2 separate regions of the Homo sapiens genome follow, and region 1 is linked to region 2. The links are contacts of gene promoters, found by promoter capture Hi-C in blood cells and fetal thymus (Javierre and others, 2016). All regions are on one chromosome and are shown on one strand. The core of a region is centred on a gene start or on the middle of the fragment in contact, and the rest is flanking DNA. Distances in the headings are between cores, read along the strand shown.

The links. Contacts are between HindIII fragments. The CHiCAGO score rates a contact against its expected background, and 5 or more counts as called.
Region 1: a fragment that was not itself captured here is called in contact with the fragment with the promoter of SOCS3 in region 2 in 12 of 17 cell types (activated CD4 T cells, naive CD4 T cells, endothelial precursors and 9 more); the score reaches 10.5 in activated CD4 T cells.

The regions. Positions count from the first base shown.
Region 1 is chr17:78,289,268-78,296,475 of GRCh38, reverse strand. No RefSeq gene overlaps it. Among named protein-coding and RNA genes, the nearest start is that of LINC01993, 14 kb to the right of the region's middle. RefSeq lists a silencer at 4,476-4,745. The HindIII fragment of the contact is 5,870 bases long and covers 1-4,641 here.
Region 2 is chr17:78,354,448-78,361,326 of GRCh38, reverse strand. It overlaps SOCS3 (suppressor of cytokine signaling 3), which reads left to right and starts at 1,250. Exons shown (of 2, transcript NM_003955.5): 1 at 1,250-1,577; 2 at 2,144-4,549. The coding sequence starts at 2,232. The coding sequence ends at 2,909. It overlaps SOCS3-DT (SOCS3 divergent transcript), which reads right to left and starts at 879. Exons shown (of 5, transcript NR_110847.1): 1 at 554-879. RefSeq lists silencers at 349-398, 629-828, 889-1,198, 1,209-1,488, 1,899-2,138 and 1 more and enhancers at 1,246-1,894, 3,841-4,490, 4,548-5,047, 5,873-5,922, 6,246-6,747. The HindIII fragment of the contact is 6,903 bases long and covers 1-4,860 here.

The DNA.
Region 1 (7,208 bases), core at 457-2,956, 65 kb after region 2:
GGAGGCAGAGGTTGCGGTGAGGCGAGATTGTGCCCCTGCACTCCAGCCTGGGCAACAGAGTGAGACTGTCTCAAAAAAAGAGGCTCCACCCAAGAAGCCAGAGGGACCCCCAGAGGGAGGTTTCCATGCCAGCAGAGGTGGGGTGGCAGAGGGCAGTGCTTGGGTGGTGCAGCTTGCTGGGTGCTAAGAAGACCTCCCTGCCTGGCTCCAGGCCCGGCTCAGAGCCCACCTTCTCCTCCAGGTGGTAGCTCCTCTTCACCTCTCCCTTTTCTGTGTCACTTGAATATTTTAATGCCTGGGGGAGGTTTTGTGCTTTCCAAGGAAGACTTAGTGACTTGAATTTGAATTGAGTCAAGGCTGGCCACGGTGGCTCATACCTGTAATCCCAGCACTTTGGGAGGCCGAGGTGGGAGGATTGCTGGAGCCCAGGAGTTTGAGACCAGCCTGGACAAAATAGTAAGACCCTATCGACAAAAAAAAGAATTGAAAATTATCTGGGTGTGGTGGTGCGTGCCTGTAGTCCCAGCTACTTGGGAGGCTGAGGTGGGAGGATTGCTTGAGCCCAGGAGTTTGAGATTAGCCTGGACAATTTAGTGAGACCTCTCACTAAGTCATCTCGCTAAAAATTTTTTTTAAAAAATTAGTCGGGCATGGTGGCATGCACCTGTAGTCTAAGCACTTTGAGAGACTGAGGTAGGAGGATTGCTTGAGCCTGGGAGGTTGAGGCTGCAGTGAGCCATGATTACAGCACTGCACTCCAGCCTGGGCAACAGAGTCTAGTCTCAAAAAAAAAAAGAGTCAATATATCAAGTGTAAAAGTTGTCAATATTAAAACCTACCTTTACTTAGACCTTGCATTCCAAAATCCAACAAGTTTTAGCATTCTCTTTATAAATCTAATTTTAATATGAAAACACAATCACTTTCACTTGGGCTATGCTCAATTAACTCATACATTTAACACACTGATTACTTCTTATGCATTTAACCACACTGACCTTTTTTTCTTTTTTTTTGAGACGGAGTCTTGCTATGTTGCCCAGGCTGGAGTGCAGTGGCGTGATCTCGGCTCACTGCAACCTCCGCCTCCTGGGTTCACGCCATTCTCTTGCCTCAGCCTCCCGAGTAGCTGGGACTACAGGTGCCCACCACCACGCCGGCTAATTTTTTGTATTTTTGGTTGAGACGGGGTTTACACTGTGTTAGCCAGGATGGTCTCGATCTCCTGACCTCGTGATCCGCCCGCCTCGGCCTCCCAAAGTGCTGGGATTACAGGTGTGAGCCACCGCGCCCGGCCTCACACTGACCTTCTTAAATAACACAAGAGCCTCGGGAGTACAGATCTAAAATCACACCTTCGATGCTGCTGGAGTCTCCGAAGCACCTGGCCAGGCCGCCTACAAATCAGCATGTGAATTCTTCCAGAACGCGTAGGCAGCTCCTGTAAATTGAGGAAATCAGACTCGTAAAGGCTGTGACTCAGGTTCTCCTCATCATCTCGAACACCATCAAAACAACAATAGAGACACAGAGCAGCATTCACTTCGCGGATGGTTGCAACATAGGAAAAGCAACCACTCACCAGGGCTTTCTTGGATTTCTTGCAAATTACCGTACTCTCTCCGCCCAGGGGTCACCAGCCAGGGCTGCTAAGCACCTAAGATCGCGGGGAGGGTGTTGGCCTGGGATTCCCGGCCAGGATGCAGGACTAGCCTTAGTTCTGGGATATTCTCCCGACTTTAAGGAGGGAGGCCTCTTCCTGTGGTCAGTGGCCATGGCCTGTGAGCCTGGACTTGCGGCCAGGGTAGGATCAACACACAATTCCCCCTTCACCACCATGTCACATGCCCCCAGGCATTGCAGCCGCCAGGGTCTGGGGTCCTCACTCTCGCTTTCCCAGCTGCATCCCACCAGCAACCACAATTGGCCTTGGCGTGTACTCTTCATCCAGACTGCAGCTGCCTCCCTACAGTACTCTGGGGAGTCTGCCCTGCTCTTCATGGTCACACTCTCCACCTGCCTCACTCACCACCGTTCACGGTCATTTATTGGCCCTCCAGGCATGTCCTGGGGACCTCTCAAGCCCTCCCTTGAAACGCTTAACCCATCGGGTTAGGGCCAAGCAGGAGGGGCTTGTGTGGATTTGAAGACCCTCTGGACCAGGGATTCCAGCGATAAGCATAAAGGAACAGGCCTGAAGGCCAGGGTTTGGAGTGCTGTTTTCCTGGGCAGTGATAGCCCAGAATACCAGGGGTCAGGACTTGGGGCACACTGAGTTTGAGCATGACTGACCCTCGGAGGCACTGCCTCATCAGAGACTCACTCAACTAGCCAGGCCCTCCTGCACGGGGAGGGGCCCTGTCCTCTGCAGACTCTCCCTCATGGTCACAAGACACCCTTGGGCAGGCCCAGGCCATGTGCCTCTAGGTCCCAATGCAACAGAAAGGGAACTACTTGGCCGGGTGCAGTGGCTCACGCCCGTAATCACAGCACATTGGCAGGCCTAGGTGGGTGGATCAGCGGAGGTCAGGGGTTCAAGACCAGCCTGGCCAACATGGTGAAACCCCATCTCTACTAAAAATACAAAAATTAGCTGGGTGTAGGCCGGGCACGGTGGCTCACGCCTGTAATCCCAGCACTTTGGGAGGCCGAGGAGGGCAGATCACGAGCTCAGGAGATCGAGACCATCCTGGCCAACATGGTGAAACCCCATCTCTACTAAAAATACTAAAAAATTAGCCAGGCGTGGTGGCGGGCGCCTGTAGTCCCAGCTACTCGGGAGGCTGAGGCTGGAGAATGGCGTGAACCCGGGAGGTGGAGCTTGCAGTGAGCCGAGATTGTGCCACTGCACTCCAGCCTGGGGGACAGAGCCAGACTCCGTCTCAAAAAAAAAAAAAAAAAATTAGCTGGGCGTGGTGGTGTGCGCCTGTAATTGCAGCTACTTGGGAGGCTGAGGCTGGAGAATCACTTGAACCTGGGAGGCGGAGGTTGCAGTGAGCCAAGGTCGTGCCACTGCACTCCAGCCTGGGTGACAAAGCAAGACTCCATCTCAAAAAAAAAAGGAACTACTTGTAGGTAAAGCAACTGAAACCTATTTATAGGGCCATCTGACCCGGGTTGGGACATGTATCCTATATCGTTATAACCAAGGGGGTGAGAGAGTCAGACTGGCTTAGACCAATGAAGGCTCATCCCTGGGGTAAAGTGGATGGTGGAGAAGAAAGTGACAAAAGTTCACTATGAGAGGTGATCTGAATGAGCCCCAAAGTCTATGATTAGAAGCCAAGAGCATGGGGCCAGTCACGGTGGCTCACGCCTGAAATCCCAGCACTTTGGGAGGCCGAGGTGGGTGGATCACTTGAGCCCAGGAGTTCGAGATCAGCCTCGGCAACATGGCAAAACTTCATCTCTACACAAAATACAAGCCAGGCATGGTGGCATGCACCTGTGGTCCCAGTTAGTTGGGAGGTTGAGGTAGGAGGATCACCTGAGCCCAGAAGGTTGAGGTTGTAGTGAGCTGTGATCGTGCCACTGCACTCCAGCCTGAGCGACAGAGTGAGACTTTGTCTCAAAAAAAAAAAAAAAAAAAAAAAGGCAGCCTGGAGGACAGCTGCAGCAGCACCGTGCATCTGTATCCTGGGTGTTTAATAACTGATTGTTGAGGAAGGAAGGAAGGAAGCTGGACACAGAGAGGCAGGTATCCAGCTCTCGCTTCTGGGAGGTTGGTGGAGATGGGCACAGAGCCCAGGGCACCCGGCCAAATCAGGGGCAGGTCCAGCTAGGAGGGTCCCTTCTGAGAGCAGCGGTCCAAGCTCGCTCCTCCCTGGGAGCAAGAAGCCTGGTCAGAAACAGAGACTGAAGCAGGAGGTGAGTCCATGTGAGGCCGTGGCTTGGACACCAACCTGAGATGTTGGAGACATGGAGTGAGGCCCCATGGAGAGGGCAGATGAGGAGGGTGGATTAGGGCTGATCTTGGGAGCTGTTGCCCCCATATCCCTTTGACATTCGCCTTGGCAAACTTTGTAGGCCCGGAGGAGAGTTCTCAAAACACAGTGAGTGTGACCTGAGGGACACAGCCGGACTGGGCTGCAGGTGGGTGGATCCGAGGTGGATGAGACCAGCCCCTGTTGTGTCCTATGCTTAGATCTCGGGGCACTCTTGGGCGGTCTGTAACTGGCAACAGTGTCGCCCCCACGCAGGGAAAGCCGAGTGGGACCCAGGGTGGTCCTTGGGGAGCCCTCCACCCAGGCTCCAGCTCCGGCCTGCCCGCTGGCCAGGACATTACCTGTTCCCAGAACGCCATCTGCCCCAGAGGCCATTCACCCTGGCGGCAGGCTGGGCCAGAAAGCAAGTGCCCAGCCCCAGAGCCAAGAGTGAGGCATGAACGATGCCAGCAGAATGCCACACGTCCTCAACTCGGGCTGCCTGAAGCACAGATACTGTGGCTCCCCTGAGTTGGCCCTTTGACCATGGAGTCCACCGTCCCCAAGGAGGTGCTGGGGACAGAGGCATCGGCTCGGCAGCGTGAGGGTTTCTGTTTGCAGACAGGACGGTGCAACACACAGGTGAGGCTCACACGAGTTTGCCCTGGAGACCCCGCCTGCCTCAGAGAACTGGGGGTGTGGAGAGGCCCAGAAAGCTTCACAGATGTGGGGCTGACCAGCCTGGGGGAGAACCCTGTCTCGGGGGATCCCCACTAGCAATCCAGAGTGGACTGGGTGTGGGCTGAGAGGGGCCACTGCTATGACTGGGAAGCTTGGAGGTCTTCAACTGTCAGTCCCATTTTAGGAGGAGCAACTGACCCAGGGGCTGACTGAGTGTGTGCCCAAGAGAGGAGGGTCTGCCTGTCCGCATTGAGGAAGGCGCCTGCTGATGGGTGTCAGGGGTGCGTCGAGCCCACTCTGCCCGCTCTGTCTCCAGGGACCCTCCCTGCTGCTCTTCAGTCTCCTTCCTCGCTGGGGGCAGATCATGCGGGGCACGGCGCAGGAGGAGAAACTGCAGGGCAGCCGGGCACCATGGCTCACGCCTGTAATCCCTGCACTTTGGGAGGCTGAGGTGGGCGGATCACCTGAGGTCAGGAGTTTGAGACCAGCCTGGCCAACATGGTGAAACCCCATCTCTACTAAAAATACAAAAATTAGCTGGGCGTGGTGGTGGGCGCCTGTAATCCCAGCTACTTGGGAGGCTGAGGCAGGAGAATCACTTGAGCCCAGGAGATGGAGGCTGCAGTGAGCCAAGATCATGCCATTGCACTCCAGCCTGGGCAACAAAAGCGAGACTCCATCTCAAAAAAAAAAGAAAGAAAGAAAAAGAAACTGCAGGGCAGGCCCAGCTGTGACACTGGCAGGGCCCAGTGCAAAATGAAGATGCAGGGCTCCTTGTTAAAAAATCACTAAGAATTTCGAAATGGTGACGGAGATCATTAAACCCAGCACAGCGTGCTCTGAGCATGGGGACCAGTGCACCTCCATAGGTCACACACCCCTGGAGCTGGCCCTGCAGCAGGGAGATTAAGGGGAGTCCGCAGTGAGGTGGCATCTTATCTTTCTAATGGGCATCTTAGGCGCACACACAGTACATACAAAGGCCCTGTGGCCGCATGCCAAGGCTCCTGAGGAGGCCCTGAAGTCTGCCTCCCTCTGCATACAGTGAACCATTAAACCTCTAAACAACCAGAGAAATAGGTGTCATTAGTCCCATCTTACAGAGGAGAAAGCGGGGCTCAGGGAGGTGGAGGGACTTTCCCAAGGACACTCAGCAGGCAGGCGGCAGAGCTGGAACCCAGAGCCAGCCCAGCGGGCTCCAAAGGCTGGCTTGGGCACACTGGCCATACCACAAGGCAGCTCCTTGTCCCAGCAGGCAGGGCTCCTTTGTGCTGTGGAGCCCAGGCCCCAGCCCCCACTCCCTGGGTTCAAATCTCAGCTCTGGAAGTGACTCAGCCTCTCTGAGCCTCAGTTTCTTCCTCTGTAAAGTGGATATTGTATTCATAGGTCCTCCTTTGATAGGATTGCTTCTCGTGATACACGCAGGATGCGAAGAACAGTAGCAGGCACGGAAAAGGCCCCAAATAACATCTTCCATGGATGCCACTGTGGCCTCGCTCGCTGTTCTTCCTGCCGCTGCCGCCCAGCCTGCAGGTCTCTCCCACTTTGGGTAAATAACCCTTCCCCACCTTTGGCAAGCCGGGCCACCTGGCAGTACGTGCAGGGCTCAGGTCACTGCCCACACCCACCCGTGCATGCCCAGGTAGGACACACACACTCTCTCTCACACACACTTACACTCGCACTTACACACACAACACACACACTCATTCACACTTACACTCAACACACAAACACACTCGCACTCACACACAAAACACACACACACTCATTCACACACTCACACTCAACACACACACGCCACTCACACACACACAAAACACATACTCACACACACACATACACTCACACACACTGACACCCCTTAGCCTGGTGTCTTGAGCCAAGTACGAGGCTGCGAAGGTCTCCCTCTAGCGGCCCAGAAAGAGTAGATGCTCACTCAGGCCTGACTTAACTCACTGGAGGAAGCCGCGGGAACTCCTCTGCCCTGGGCTGCAGCCGGATCCTAAGAAGTTCCCGTCCTGGCTGGGGGGTTGGGCATGGTGGCTCACACCTGTAATCCCAGCACTTTGGGAGGCCGAGGCAGGCGGATCATCTGAGGTCGGGAGTTTGAGACCAGCCTGACCAACGTGGAGAAACCCCGTCTCTACTAAAAATACAAAATTAGCTGGGCTTGGTGGTGCACGCCTGTAATCCCAACTACTAGGGAGACTGAGGCAGAAGAATCGCTTGAACCCTGGAAGCAGAGGTTGCAGTAAGCCAAGATCGCACCACTGCACTCCAGCCTGGGCGACAAAAGCGAAACTCCATCTCAAAAAAAAAAAAAAAAAATAGAATCCCAGGTCCCGGCCATGCCTAGACACCCGCCTTCTGTCCCTTCATTCATCTGAGCAGCAGGAGCTGAACACTTGTCAGCAGCAGCCCAGCCCAGAGGCTAGAATCAGAGCCAGTCCCACGTCCAGGACCCGAGGAGGTCCCAAGGCTTTTGGGGGGCCAAACAGAGCTGGCTGAGGGGTGACGAGTAGGAGGTCTCACAGCCCTCAATGTCAGGCACAAGGGGAGAGGCAGGGTAGCCCAGGAAGAAGGACGTGCACAGGCAGGGGC
Region 2 (6,879 bases), core at 1-2,500:
CAAACTATCTACGTCAGTGCCAACGTGACCAGCAGCAAACCAATCTTTCACCTCAATCACTTCCTCTCCTCCCCTCTACCCCCTCCCCGCCAGTGATCAAGTCCTCCCCCACCCCAAGAGAGGCAGGGGGTCACATTCCAGGGGGTGTGGGCCATCTGGCAGTAGCCTGAACCCCGGAAAACTGCTTTCCGGAAATTCTCTCCTGCTAGAATTTTATTCCCAGGTCTGACCCCAGCCTGGGGTGTGAATGCCCCCTTCTCGGCCACCTTTCCAGCTCCGGAGACAGCCATTCCCGCAGATCCCTGGCGTGCCTATTCCAAGGCCTGGGCCGCGCAGCACCAAACTGCCCTCCCCTAGGAGACCCCAGGGCGCCCTCTGGCGGACGCGGGCCGTAGGTTGGGGCCATCGTTCCACCTCGAGCTCTCCAGCCCGGCCGAGAGCACCTGGCCCAACCCACACCGGACCAACCAGGTTTGCAGACCCCAGTGCATGAAAGCGTTTTCATAGGGGAGGGGAGGGGGGCTCCACACTCGCGTCAGGGTTGGCAAAGAACCTGGCAGTGGGCCGAGGCTGGGTAGCTGCCACGAAGGGGCGTCCCCTGCAGCCCTGGGTCTCCCCTCTGGAATCTGCCCGCAGGTGACTGTCGCACGTCTCCAACCTCCGGCTCCCGGGTCTGACCCCAGCCCCGCTGCCTGGCTGTGGGGTAGCCCCACTTCCCTTTCGGCTGGCCCGGGCCGCCTGACCCGCAGTTGGGCCCTCGGGGAGGCCCGGGTGGCGGCGAGGGGGTGTCCCCGCGGGGTCCGGGAAAAGGGGAAGGGGAACCGGGAGGCTCTCCAGGTCGGCCTCCTAGAACTGCCCGCTCTCCCGAAGCGGCGCCCCCGCCTCTGCCAGAAATCAGCCTTCTTAGAAGGGAGGGGGGTGGGGGGAAAGTGTGAATGAGAAGTTGGGGGCGGAGCGCGCGGCGGGGAGGGGCCGCTGCCAGGAACGCGCCGCCGGGGCTGGCGCCGCGCCCACCGGCCGCCTCGGCCGCCTCTCGTCGCGCTTTGTCTCCGCGCGCGTCCCTCCCGGTCCCTGCCCCTGCTCGCGGCCCGCCCTCGGCGCCCGCGGCCCCTCCCTCACCCTCCGCGCTCAGCCTTTCTCTGCTGCGAGTAGTGACTAAACATTACAAGAAGGCCGGCCGCGCAGTTCCAGGAATCGGGGGGCGGGGCGCGGCGGCCGCCTATATACCCGCGAGCGCGGCCTCCGCGGCGGCTCCGACTTGGACTCCCTGCTCCGCTGCTGCCGCTTCGGCCCCGCACGCAGCCAGCCGCCAGCCGCCCGCCCGGCCCAGCTCCCGCCGCGGCCCCTTGCCGCGGTCCCTCTCCTGGTCCCCTCCCGGTTGGTCCGGGGGTGCGCAGGGGGCAGGGCGGGCGCCCAGGGGAAGCTCGAGGGACGCGCGCGCGAAGGCTCCTTTGTGGACTTCACGGCCGCCAACATCTGGGCGCAGCGCGGGCCACCGCTGGCCGTCTCGCCGCCGCGTCGCCTTGGGGACCCGAGGGGGCTCAGCCCCAAGGACGGAGACTTCGATTCGGGACCAGGTAGGAAGGAGGAGCGCGGCGTGGGGAGGGGTCTCGCTCAGTCCCGGGAGCTTTTCCCGGTTTCCCCTCCCCTTCCCGGGTCATTCCCGGCAGGGAGGTGACGAGGTAGGGGCAGAGCGGATGGAAGCCGGAGATCCCAGGTTCCCGGAATACTCCGGCTGGGGCCTTCGGGCTTCTCCTGTCCCCTCCCTACCCCCGTGCCTCGGGTTTCTCCCTCCGTCCACACCGCCCGGGGCTACTGGACTGAGCGGCGCCCAGGCAGTCCCGGGGGCCCTTCTCCTGCTCCCCACCCGGCCACACTCCTGGAGACCTAACTTCCGCGCGCGAGTTTCCCACGCTGCGCCCTTGCAGTGCGCGCCTGGGAAGGGGCTGCCCGGGGCCACCCTGCCGGCAGGGGCGGGAGCCGTGCGGGCTCCGTGAGGCGCCTGGATCGGAGCGCGGGCCCAGGAGAGGGCCCCCGGGGCAGTGGGTGCCCCAGTCGCTCGGCGAAGGCAGGGGAGCCGGGGCGGGCCGGGCGCGCTGGAGGGTTCCGGGCACTCAACGCGCTCGCGCCTTCCTCTCCGCAGCCCCCCGGGATGCGGTAGCGGCCGCTGTGCGGAGGCCGCGAAGCAGCTGCAGCCGCCGCCGCGCAGATCCACGCTGGCTCCGTGCGCCATGGTCACCCACAGCAAGTTTCCCGCCGCCGGGATGAGCCGCCCCCTGGACACCAGCCTGCGCCTCAAGACCTTCAGCTCCAAGAGCGAGTACCAGCTGGTGGTGAACGCAGTGCGCAAGCTGCAGGAGAGCGGCTTCTACTGGAGCGCAGTGACCGGCGGCGAGGCGAACCTGCTGCTCAGTGCCGAGCCCGCCGGCACCTTTCTGATCCGCGACAGCTCGGACCAGCGCCACTTCTTCACGCTCAGCGTCAAGACCCAGTCTGGGACCAAGAACCTGCGCATCCAGTGTGAGGGGGGCAGCTTCTCTCTGCAGAGCGATCCCCGGAGCACGCAGCCCGTGCCCCGCTTCGACTGCGTGCTCAAGCTGGTGCACCACTACATGCCGCCCCCTGGAGCCCCCTCCTTCCCCTCGCCACCTACTGAACCCTCCTCCGAGGTGCCCGAGCAGCCGTCTGCCCAGCCACTCCCTGGGAGTCCCCCCAGAAGAGCCTATTACATCTACTCCGGGGGCGAGAAGATCCCCCTGGTGTTGAGCCGGCCCCTCTCCTCCAACGTGGCCACTCTTCAGCATCTCTGTCGGAAGACCGTCAACGGCCACCTGGACTCCTATGAGAAAGTCACCCAGCTGCCGGGGCCCATTCGGGAGTTCCTGGACCAGTACGATGCCCCGCTTTAAGGGGTAAAGGGCGCAAAGGGCATGGGTCGGGAGAGGGGACGCAGGCCCCTCTCCTCCGTGGCACATGGCACAAGCACAAGAAGCCAACCAGGAGAGAGTCCTGTAGCTCTGGGGGGAAAGAGGGCGGACAGGCCCCTCCCTCTGCCCTCTCCCTGCAGAATGTGGCAGGCGGACCTGGAATGTGTTGGAGGGAAGGGGGAGTACCACCTGAGTCTCCAGCTTCTCCGGAGGAGCCAGCTGTCCTGGTGGGACGATAGCAACCACAAGTGGATTCTCCTTCAATTCCTCAGCTTCCCCTCTGCCTCCAAACAGGGGACACTTCGGGAATGCTGAACTAATGAGAACTGCCAGGGAATCTTCAAACTTTCCAACGGAACTTGTTTGCTCTTTGATTTGGTTTAAACCTGAGCTGGTTGTGGAGCCTGGGAAAGGTGGAAGAGAGAGAGGTCCTGAGGGCCCCAGGGCTGCGGGCTGGCGAAGGAAATGGTCACACCCCCCGCCCACCCCAGGCGAGGATCCTGGTGACATGCTCCTCTCCCTGGCTCCGGGGAGAAGGGCTTGGGGTGACCTGAAGGGAACCATCCTGGTACCCCACATCCTCTCCTCCGGGACAGTCACCGAAAACACAGGTTCCAAAGTCTACCTGGTGCCTGAGAGCCCAGGGCCCTTCCTCCGTTTTAAGGGGGAAGCAACATTTGGAGGGGATGGATGGGCTGGTCAGCTGGTCTCCTTTTCCTACTCATACTATACCTTCCTGTACCTGGGTGGATGGAGCGGGAGGATGGAGGAGACGGGACATCTTTCACCTCAGGCTCCTGGTAGAGAAGACAGGGGATTCTACTCTGTGCCTCCTGACTATGTCTGGCTAAGAGATTCGCCTTAAATGCTCCCTGTCCCATGGAGAGGGACCCAGCATAGGAAAGCCACATACTCAGCCTGGATGGGTGGAGAGGCTGAGGGACTCACTGGAGGGCACCAAGCCAGCCCACAGCCAGGGAAGTGGGGAGGGGGGGCGGAAACCCATGCCTCCCAGCTGAGCACTGGGAATGTCAGCCCAGTAAGTATTGGCCAGTCAGGCGCCTCGTGGTCAGAGCAGAGCCACCAGGTCCCACTGCCCCGAGCCCTGCACAGCCCTCCCTCCTGCCTGGGTGGGGGAGGCTGGAGGTCATTGGAGAGGCTGGACTGCTGCCACCCCGGGTGCTCCCGCTCTGCCATAGCACTGATCAGTGACAATTTACAGGAATGTAGCAGCGATGGAATTACCTGGAACAGTTTTTTGTTTTTGTTTTTGTTTTTGTTTTTGTGGGGGGGGGCAACTAAACAAACACAAAGTATTCTGTGTCAGGTATTGGGCTGGACAGGGCAGTTGTGTGTTGGGGTGGTTTTTTTCTCTATTTTTTTGTTTGTTTCTTGTTTTTTAATAATGTTTACAATCTGCCTCAATCACTCTGTCTTTTATAAAGATTCCACCTCCAGTCCTCTCTCCTCCCCCCTACTCAGGCCCTTGAGGCTATTAGGAGATGCTTGAAGAACTCAACAAAATCCCAATCCAAGTCAAACTTTGCACATATTTATATTTATATTCAGAAAAGAAACATTTCAGTAATTTATAATAAAGAGCACTATTTTTTAATGAAAAACATGACTTGAGCCTTTTCTGCACCCCTGCCCCCCCGCCCCCCGCCCCGTGCCTTGCTTTCTCTTTCACCCACACCCACACTCTGCATCGGAGAGGAGGAAGAGAGCCGCAGAGGGTGGAATCGAATACGTCTCAGCCTTACGTCAGCACGCCTGCCTCGTGTGTCACTGACAAGCTAAGGCAGCCACCTAGACTTACCGAGAGGGGTAATTCCTGCAAGTCTGATTCAGATCTGACCAGAATATGCAAAGCAAGTTCGAAGGAAGCGCTTCAAAGGGCTTGCAGGGAGCAAGCTGAGCTGTGGTCAAAGCTTTTAGAGGCTCCAGGCTATTAGAGGCGCTCTGGTTCCTTGGCAGGGAGTCGTTCCGAGAAAGCCCAGACATGGGGTCCTAGTGGTGACCTATGACCTCAGTCTAGCCAGGTTCACTGGAAGTGGGGGGAGGGGTGGTCCTGAAGCAAATCTTGCATGCAGGTGGAGCCCCACCCCCTCCCCCACCACAGGACCCCAGGCATTCAGGGGCTTCCTGGCCACTGCTCCCCATGCCTGCTTCCCTTCCCCGTTCCTAGGGGCCCCAACCTGAGCAGCGGACAGGATCACCCTCCTCCCAAAAAGCACCCATCTATTCATCTCTCTCTTTTTTTGAAACAGGGTTCGCTATGTTGCCCAGGCTGGTCTCCAGCTCCCGGGCTGAAGGTATCCTCCCCTCAGCCCATCTATTTTTAGTCACTCTCATTTAAACACTAAGGGGCACTTAGAGGTTACCTGGATTAAGCATCCCACCTGCTCCCACAAGGCAGGCATTCTCATCCCCATGTTCTCAGACATGGCCACGTGCCCCATGTGAGCCAGGACTTGGACTGGTCACTTCTGGTGCCTAGATTGGTGCTCAGTAAATATTTGTCAACTAAGTAGGGGCAGCAACTCAGGTTCAGGGAGGTTAAGCAACCTGGCCAAGGGCACACCACTTGGGAATATGGGGAAAACAGGATTGGAACCCAGGAGCATTTGATTTCCAAAGCCCATGCCTCTCTGCCTCTCTATACACTCAGCATATACCTGCCCCCGGAGTGAGTCCCTCCTTAAAAGCCAAGAGGTTAGTACCCTTCCCCCCAACTCTGGGGTTTCAGCACTAGGGTTCTTCTAATAGCAAAAAACGTCTTCTCTCCTGTAATCCAGCACTTTGGGAGGTCGAGGTGGGCTAAGGGCTGGAGCCCAGAAGTTCAAGACCAGCCTGGGCAATATAGCGAGACCCTGTCTCCATTTAAAAAACAGAAACCAAAAACAAAAACAAAACCACCTTCTCTGAGGTATTCTCCTTTCATGCCTCCTTCTCTGATCCCCGTGACCTGACAGCTGGGAAATGAGTGTTAACCCCAAGTCAGGGGCCCTTATCTCTCTCAGATGACACAAATACCAGAGCCTCTTCCTGGCCCCCTTGCACCCAATATACTGCTCCAGGAATCGGGGTCCAAAAGGCAACAGAGAGTAAATAAACAAAGTCGTTTTTCTTTCCTATTTCCTGGGACTTTTGGAGAAAATGACCTGAAGTGACGAGAAGGGGCCAGGCCAGGCACGAGGCGGCTGAGGGGACAGAGCATATGGGAGCCACACCACAGGCATCATGAAGGAACTCCAGACTGGCAATGTAAACCCAGGTAGGGCCACCTTCCCAAAGCACAAGTGCAGGTGAGGGGGCCCAGTGGGGTGTGGCTCCCCAGTGCCTTCCAGAAGGATGATGAGTCTTCCTCGCCCTGGGGTCTGCTGGTCAGCCACCACTGCCTTCAGCTGCACAGAGTTCCCCTTTCACTGGAATAACAGCCATGAGGGAACCGTGAACCTGGGGTCCTTGTACTTTTTTGTTTTTTGAGACAGGGTCTCACTCTGTCACCCAGGTTGGAGTGCAGTGGCGCTATTATAGCTCACTGCAGGTTTGAACTCCCGGGTTTGGGTAAACCTCCCACGTCTGGGTAATCCTCCCACGTCAGCCTCCTGAGTAGCTGGGACTACAGGCACATTATCACCACGGCCAGTTATTTTTAATTTTTAATTTTTTTTTTGTATATTTCGTAGAGACAGGGTCTCGCCATGTTGCCCAGGCTGGTCTCGAACTCCTGAACTCAAGCAATCTGCCAGCCTCAGCCTCCCAAAGTGCTGGGATTACAGGCATGAGCCACTGTGCCCAGCCACTGGGTCCCTGTGCTTGACCCAGAAGGCAGCTGTTTAGCCAGGTTGTCCAGTGTTCACAGAATGCTAGCAAAAGAATTTGATCTTCTCTGGCCAGGGAGGAAGTAGTTCTCCCTGCCCACCCCAGGGAGGTTGAAACTTGGTTT